2 separate regions of the Homo sapiens genome follow, and region 2 is linked to region 1. The links are contacts of gene promoters, found by promoter capture Hi-C in blood cells and fetal thymus (Javierre and others, 2016). All regions are on one chromosome and are shown on one strand. Each heading gives the region's core, a stretch centred on a gene start or on the middle of the fragment in contact. The rest is flanking DNA. Distances are from core to core; before and after follow the strand shown.

Region 1 (4,144 bases), core at 1,274-3,773:
GTCAATATATCAACTTTAAAATTTCTAAAAATAAGTTATATTCTCATCTATGCCCTAACGAATCAAAACAAAACACAAAGAAATGATGCAGATGTTCTCACTATTCACTAACTCATGGGATTTGAACTAAGATTTGGCAGCTAGACTAGTAAATGCTGTCTATATAGCCTTTTGCATATTACAGACAGTGCCTGACTAGCTGAATTACAGCCCCAAAAGTCTTTCCTCTGCCTTTCACACATGGCTGTAAAAGTTAGAGTTAAGAAAAAAATTTACAAATTCTCAAAACTATACAGAAAAAGCTGTTTAAAGTCTGCCAAAGTTTTAAAAAATTAACAACAATAAAAAGAAAACCTCACCACATAAACCCATACACTTAAAATGAATACGATGGAATACGCTATAGAAAGAAAATCTTAATTATGACCTTAGGAGCATGTGAGTCTGTGTGTATACATATCCACAATACACAGACATATGTAAACTGCACCACAAACCATCAAGCCCCATTAAGCTCAAGGACTATTAAAGATATATTAATATTTCCAAAGCGAGCTGCTGAGAAAGAAATGAGAAGGAGATAACATATTAAATTTTTATCCAGAATTTTCTAGCATTTTGCCATCAAGGGATGGACTGCTACCTAGCCCAGGTAACAATTAACCAGCCCATTATATTTTGATGCACCGTATACTCAGCAGAGCACATTAAGGAAAAACAGTTTGGTTTCTAATAATGTTACAATCACAATTCTCTCTCCCACAAACATCTAAGACGACAGAACCACATTCTATCTATGCTGAAACAAAACCAACAATGCTGTCTATAACAAATTCATAAGAACTACTACATACTATCAGATCTCACTGTATGCTGTCTCTGATCAATGCTTTGAAACTGACGAGTATGCCATAAACATAACGTGCTTTGCAGCAATTTTTACTAGCATAAAAGATACCAGGGCAACAGAGGCTCCTTTAACCTACCACTTCAACAAAATTCTGTAAAATCAAAAGCGTTACAGAAGCTTTCACTCCGCTAGGCACCTAGGTCTTCCTGCAAAACCCAGACTCTATTCAACAGCTCCCTGCAAGAACACACCAGTCTGCCACATATCACATATTGTACCGTCATCGGTACTCAGACACCTGAACCACCTGGACTGACAGAGTTAGGCTGTCAGCTCTGAGATGTCTGCTAGAGTGCAAGAAACACTGAAGCAGCTAAGCCCTTCCAGGTACACCAGGTGGTAACCTTGGCACCAAGTGCCTCTATAGTAAAGTCCCTTTTTCCCTGTTAGAAGATGCGTAAGATCGTTCCAAAGAAAATGTTACAATCCTAAGGGCCTTTTTGCACAACACAGGAAAAGGCTGGCCTTCTCTAGTCAAAAACTCTTGTCTGCGGGGGGAGATGGAGCTACAAATGTAGGAAACCCAGCTTCTAGTCGCAATTCTGTGACAGCTAGCACAGCTAGCAGAGCAACCGCGCCAAGCCAGAGCTCAGTTTTCCCTTCGGCAAAATGGGACTCACCAACGCCACCCCTCCCCCTCGTCAAGGAGTCTGGCACACCCTAGAGGTCTAAGATTACCCGGGACAATACGCGGTGGGGAGGTGCCGCCGCTCCCAGGACGCCCACCCTGAAGCCCCTCTCCCCAACACCCCGAGACAGATACGCAGGGCCGGCGTACCTGGTTTCACAGTCTTGAGACGGATGGGCTCGCGGAAGTGGCGGATGACAGCCAGGGTGTCCCGGTTGGTGAGCCCGCTGACAGGCGTCCCGTTTACCTCCAGCAGCACATCGCCTGGGCTGGGCGCCTTGCCCGAGACGACGCAGCAGGTGCCCCCGCCGGGCTCCTCGCGGAGCCGCCCCAGGTAGGGGAACTCGCCACGCTCCGCGCCACCGCGGATCTCCGCGCCGAAGTCGCCCGGGGGCCCGGCCCAGGACACGGCGCACTCCTGCACCTTGCTGAGCCAGTGCTTCTTCTTCTTCAGCGTCTTCGACATCCCGAACCCCGCTGCACCATGGGGGAGACCCCGCGCGGGCGGCCGGGGCGCCGCTCCGGCCCCGTCTCAGCCCGGGGGCCCTGGGCGGCCCGCGCAGCCCGGTAAGGGGGGCCTCGCCGCTCCGGCCCCCACCCCGCGACCACAGCCCGCTGGGGGCCCGGCCGTTCCCAGACGCGAGACGCCCCTTGGACGCCCCTCCCGGCTGCGCTCCCCGGGGCTGACCGGACTCCGCGAGGGCCACCGCGGGTTAGGCTGAAGAAAGGAAAAGGGAATTGTCCCCAGGAGGTTCCAGAAGGGGCTTCGGGCGGGGTCACTGCCGCCGGCTGGTCCCTGGGCTCAGCGCCCGAGCGGCGGGAAAGGCTGAGGCGGGGGGGCGGGGAGGTGAAGGGGGAAGAGCCGGGAACGGGAAAAATCCGTGGGGGGCGCGCAGAAGCGCGCGTAGACCCGTCGCGGGATCGATCGTGGCCGCTGCGGAGCTGTAGCGCGGAGACCAACGCCTGCCCAAGCTGCCAGGAAACTGCCGCTTTCAAACCAGCCGCAACCTCCTCCTCCTCCCTTTTCCCTTCCCCCGGCCCTCGCCCATCCCTCATCCAGAGCCCCGCCCCCTCCCGCCGCGCGGCGCCCGGCGCGCTGCCGTCACAGGCTGGGCGCTTGGGAACGAGCCCCGGCCCTGGACTCTCGCGCCAGGGATTGGCCCCCGGCGGGCAGGAGGCGGACCGCCAACGAGAATGGGGACCACTGGTTGGTCGGTGCGAGTGGAGGAGGCGGGCACTAGAATGACTGAAGTTTAGAGAGGGTGGAAAAAAGAAGTTTGGAGAGTGAGGGAGGGCGCAGAGGAGGGGCAGGGGAGTGGAAGGGGCTGTAGGTCGCAGGGCCGGGAGAGGCCCTCTGCGCGGCGGCTGGAGCCGAGGAAAACTCGAATCCGAGAGGGACCGAGCTCCCCGAAGTGGGGGCGTGGCCGGCGAGTTAGGCGGAGACGCGGGCGGAGCCTCTGAGCCTGTGCGGGGCGCAGAGAGGGGCCGGTGTGCTTAGATTGGAAGACAACGTGCGGAGTCCTGAGCCGGCCGAGGTTCCGGGGCCTTTAGGGTGGCCTGTTACAGCCGATAGTTTGCATTGAGTGGATATTGCTTGTTCATTCGTTCATTCAACAGATGTTACTGAACGCCCATTGAGGCAGGGCTTCGGAGTCCGGTTGATGAAAGATATTATAAAATAGAGTCCGGCACTGCTGTATGACCTAAGACAAATTAGACAACCTCTCTGAGCCGCAGCGTCCTCAGTGAAAAGTGAAGATTACAGAAGATGTACAAAATAACTGCATAGTGCCTGACAGTGGGTGGTTGCCTCTTAAAGTTTGGTAGCTGCTGCTGCTGCTGCTGATGACGATGACGATTTTGTGTTAGATATTGTGCTAGGTACTGGGATTCAAGGGTGAAGAAAACAGAAGCCCCGCTATTGAGGAGGTTACAGTCTAGTGGGAGAGACTGAGAAGTAAGCAGACTGCCTGAGGTGAGGGAGTGGGGTGGAGGTAGAAGGTGGATTATTAAGAACTAACCTGGTAGCCAGCAGATCTGGTTGGAGTCCTGACATGCTACTTACTTGCTGTTTGACCTTGGCCAAATCTCAGTTAAAGGAGGTGAAGGGAGAACGAACATTAAATAAAAGATATCGTAGATCCCTTCCAGCTCTAATTTTTCAGAAATTTCACTTGAGCTTTCTCTCTTCCCCGGCTTGACTTACACTCTTCCCTGTCTTTGGAATGCCCTTCATCTCATCTCTTTTAAAACTCCTATCCGTCCTCATCCCAAATGCCGGCTCTTCCAGGTAGCTTTCTCTGATTTCTTGCCCTCAAGTGGAAAGTGTTTTCTCTGAGCTATGATCTTTGTTTCACTTTTGCAGCATGACATTTATTTGTGTAGTCTCCTGTCTCCCTTTAATAGTAGGTGAAAGCCCTTATAAAACTCCACACCTCAGATAGACTGGACCAAGCTTCAATAGCTGCAGTGATTTCGTTGACACCATTGTATCAGTCAGGGTCCTGGCAGGAAACAAATGGCATTTTGCAAAGATGTGGGCAGGGTGTGGGAAACCACAAGAGAAGCTGGAACCCTGAGGCTACAGCTCCTAGATCTGTCCAATC
Region 2 (3,867 bases), core at 1,089-3,588, 560 kb before region 1:
AAAGAAAAAGGATGGTACCCAAGCTATTTGGATCCAAGATTTCAGCTCTTAGGCACTGGATCATCTTCTCCAAATAATTTCCTTTCTTTCTTACAAGTCATGGAATTATAATCTATAAGGACACTCCAGATCCAGATCCAGATCCAGATTCAGATTCCTCATGTTACAGGAGTTAAATGGAAAACAGATCTTTCCGTGAAGAACCATCTAACTGGCCGTGTCTCCTCACAGAATACCCAGGTTTCTCAAACTACTTTCAAGTGATATGTGCTTATTGTTGTTTTGTGTATATGTGCAGGGGGTTGAGGGAAGGCAAGGATTAAGCAAGGAGAATATAATTTCCCTAAATAAGAATATCCCTCCCCATCTAAGCAAACTAGGCATAGAAGAAAAAAAAAATCCTCCCCTAGTATTTATACATAAATAGTGGCCCTTAGAAAACAGTAAATCTGGGGACTCCACAGGGCCTGAAAGCTTTTCTGATCCTTAAATACAAATAGCAGTCGACCCAGGCCTCTTCGGGCTTACACTTTTTAACAGCTATGGGTGGAACCACCAATATCATCAGTTTTTGTAGTATTTAATTTGAACTGTGGTTTTGTTTACCAAAGAAATAACTGGCCGGGTGCGGTGGCTCATGCCTGTAATACAAGCACTTTGGGAGGCCGAGGAGGCTGGATCACCTGAAGTCAGGAGTTTGAGACCAGCCTGGCCAACATGGTGAAACCCCATCTCTACTAAAAATATAAAAAATCAGCCAGGTGTGGTGGCGGGCACCTGTAATCCCAGCTACTCAGGAGGCTGAGGCAGGAGAATTGCTTGAACCCAGGAGACGGAGGTTGCAGTGAGCTGACACAGTGCCACTGCACTCCAGCCTGGGTGACAGAGTAAGACTCTGTCTCAAAAAAAAAAAAAAAAGAAAAGAAAAGAAGTAACCCTCAAAAGTGATATTCCTGTTGCAGGTGGCTAGAGGCACATATTACTGATGGAATTTCAGAGTTCAGTGAAATCTCAACCATAATGGCATGTTTTCAACACTGCACAAGTTTGACAGGCGCATTAATAAGCTAGTAAGACTACCCAGAAACAACATAAAAGCTTTTCTAAAATTGAAAAGGAACAAAATTTTCTACTCCTAGTGAGCAGAATCATTAATTTCCAAGTTCATGACAATGCCAAAAATAGCTGGCAGGGGGAGCACAACTGGCAATGAGCCAAAATAAAAACTGGGTTTAGAACATTCCAAAGCATCAATTGGAGGGCAGCATATTGATTTTGCTATTCCTACCATACTAGAAAGACATTTTAAAGTCCAAAAGGTAGGTCACAGAGAATGGCCAGGCCACTCTATAACTTTCTTCTTTAAAAGGTAGCGATAACAGGCCAGGCGCGGTGGCTCACGCCTATAATCCTAGCACTGTGGGTGGCCAAGGCACGTGGATGGCCTGAGGTCAGGAGTTCAAGTCCAGCCTGGCCAACATGATGAAACCCAGTCTCTACTAAAAATACAAAAATTAGCTGGGCATGGTGGCAGGCGCCTGTAATCCCAACTACTCCAGAGGCTGAGGCAGGAGAATCGCTTGAACCCGGGGGGCAGAGGTTGCAGTGAGCCAAGATTACGTCAATTCACTCCAGACTGGGCGTAAGAGCGAAACTCCGTCTCAGAAAAAAATAAAAAAGGTAGCAATAATATATGATAACTGTCTCGAGCTTAAAGTTTTCTGGGAAATTAAGGAAAATATCACTTCCACAGCCCCCAAGTCCCATTTAATTAAAAAAAAAAACTGAAGATTAGCTGAAAGTTTTTTCATTTGGTCTCACCCTGCTTTTGGAGTGACAAAAGCAGCTAAGGACTTCCAGCAAAAGCTCAGTCAAAACAGCAACTCTACCGTATCTACCTTATAAAAAGGCAAATAGCAAAAGGAAAAACAAAAAAAGGAAAGCAGTTTAAAAAAAAAAAAAATACGGCCAGAAACGGCGGTTCACACCTATAATCCCAGCACTTTGGGAAGCCAAGGCAGGAGGATCACTTGAGCAGGAGTTTGAGACCAGCCTAGGCAACACAGCAAGACCCAATCTCTACCAAAAAAATTTAAAAAATTAGCCAGGTATGGTGGTGCATGCCTGCAGTTCTAGCTACTCAGGAAGCTGAGGTGGAAGGATCACTTGAGCCCAGGAGGTCAAGGCTGCAGTGAGCCATGATTGCGCCACTGCACTCCAGCCTGAGACCCTGTCTCAAAAACAAACAAAAAAGCAGTAAGGCTGCTTAGTTCACTGAGGGTTTTGTATTATTTGGGCCTATAAATGTTAGACTTACCCAAACTCTACGAAGCAAAAAGACAAGTTATTTTCTACTTTACTGAACAGTAAGGCATCACTAGAGCAGGTTTATCTCTAAGGACTGAATACTTTAAACTGTGAATCCAGATTATAATTATTAGAATTATTTTCATTACATCTTTCCTCTTGGCCTCCTTATTTCTTAATCCCTCAATATAAACTCTACAGACACGTAAAACTCTGGTTCTACCTCATTTGTGTAATAAGGAAACAGAGTTAGATAATTACTCTTCTAGGTCCCTTTCCAGCTGTAACATTCCAACAACTGGGCAGTAAAAAAGGTTATCTACAGAAGCACAGGAAAGTGAAAGAAACTGTTAAAAACTGGCAGTGTTCACTTCAGTAGGAAAATGGCATTAATTGTGCTTTGAACATGGCAAGTCTCCTCTTTGAAGACACATCCCATCCTTAAAAAACAAATACTAAACAGGCTCTGGTTATTACAGCTAAGTGATAGAAACAACAATCCCTGCCTTTTGATTCCCCAACTTCAAACTTCTTTAAGTTGAAAAATTCTTCCAACCAACATTGTTGAGGTTAATTTCACTGGCACCCAGAGCAAGCTAAGGTTAGGATCACTTAACACAAATCACTCTGATTATTTTCATGAACATTTTCGTTTCTTTCTTCCTATCTCAGAGACATCAAACCTACTTACTTACCAATTAGAGAGGTTACATAAAACCTAACTTCCTGCATCAGTGGCTTAGGTGAAACTATATTTTGACTGCCAGAGGAAATTAGATTATTTGTTTGTCTAGGATAAATGGAAGATACGTTTTCCTTCTCTAGACCTTTTCCTTCCGTAAGTAACAAAGTGATTCAGCTTGAAATAAAGGCTGGCTAGTTTGTTCAGTAGGGAAAAACATTCAGCCTGTAAGCATGGCAAACCTTTGTCTCTAAAACTCAAGCCCGAAAGACAGGAGCTTTGCTTGGAGTCTGTGCACATTTACAGTGAGCCAGAGAGTAAAGTATATTATTTCCACTGCCTGAATCATTTAGCCATGCCCAGGGCCAATGGACACAGCAAGTTGGCAAATTTATGTGAGCTGATAATACTGGCATATTATCAGAAAGACAAAGCAAGGTAAACTAAAAAGGTGGGTAAGAGAAGGACTAGCTTTGGAGTCAAAATGCTTCACCAGCCAAACAGATTTCACAGAGGTTTTTTGAAAGACAGAAGGGTGAGGACTTAATGGACTCTAATATGGCAACAAAGCAACATCAAAGAAGCTTAAGAGGACCACTGCGGGTAAAACTAGTGATAAAGAAGGAATGCCTGAGCTGCTGTTCCATCTGCCTTAGGCTCATTATCAAGTATTACTGTGACACAACAGAACACTCATGTTAAATCCTAAACACTGTCAAGCCCTGGGCACTGAACTTCAGTATACAGAGTAATTACTCAGTAATACACAGAATGAACTCCTGTTTTTAAGAGGCAAACTTAGCTCCACTTAAAATTATAGTCAACAACTATATTGCAGTGAATTTAAAGAAAGCTTTGTCGAAGGGTAACTTTGAAGA

What was found. The method cuts DNA at HindIII sites, captures the fragments that hold promoters and counts their contacts. A CHiCAGO score of 5 or more calls a contact.
Region 2: a contact is called between a fragment that was not itself captured here and the fragment with the promoter of MAGI3 in region 1, in 2 of 17 cell types (fetal thymus and naive CD4 T cells). The highest score is 6.3, in fetal thymus.

What each region holds. Positions count from the first base shown.
Region 1 is chr1:113,388,894-113,393,037 of GRCh38, reverse strand. MAGI3 (membrane associated guanylate kinase, WW and PDZ domain containing 3) reads right to left here and starts at 2,523. Exons shown (of 21, transcript NM_001142782.2): 1 at 1,689-2,523. The coding sequence starts at 2,004. RefSeq lists enhancers at 1,478-1,527, 1,578-2,077 and silencers at 1,758-1,917, 1,978-2,107, 2,518-2,877, 2,908-2,957, 3,947-4,144. The HindIII fragment of the contact is 2,966 bases long and covers 1,030-3,995 here.
Region 2 is chr1:113,946,652-113,950,518 of GRCh38, reverse strand. All of the region lies in intron 2 of HIPK1 (homeodomain interacting protein kinase 1), which reads right to left. Among named protein-coding and RNA genes, the nearest start is that of HIPK1-AS1, 19 kb to the right of the region's middle. The HindIII fragment of the contact is 2,475 bases long and covers 1,101-3,575 here.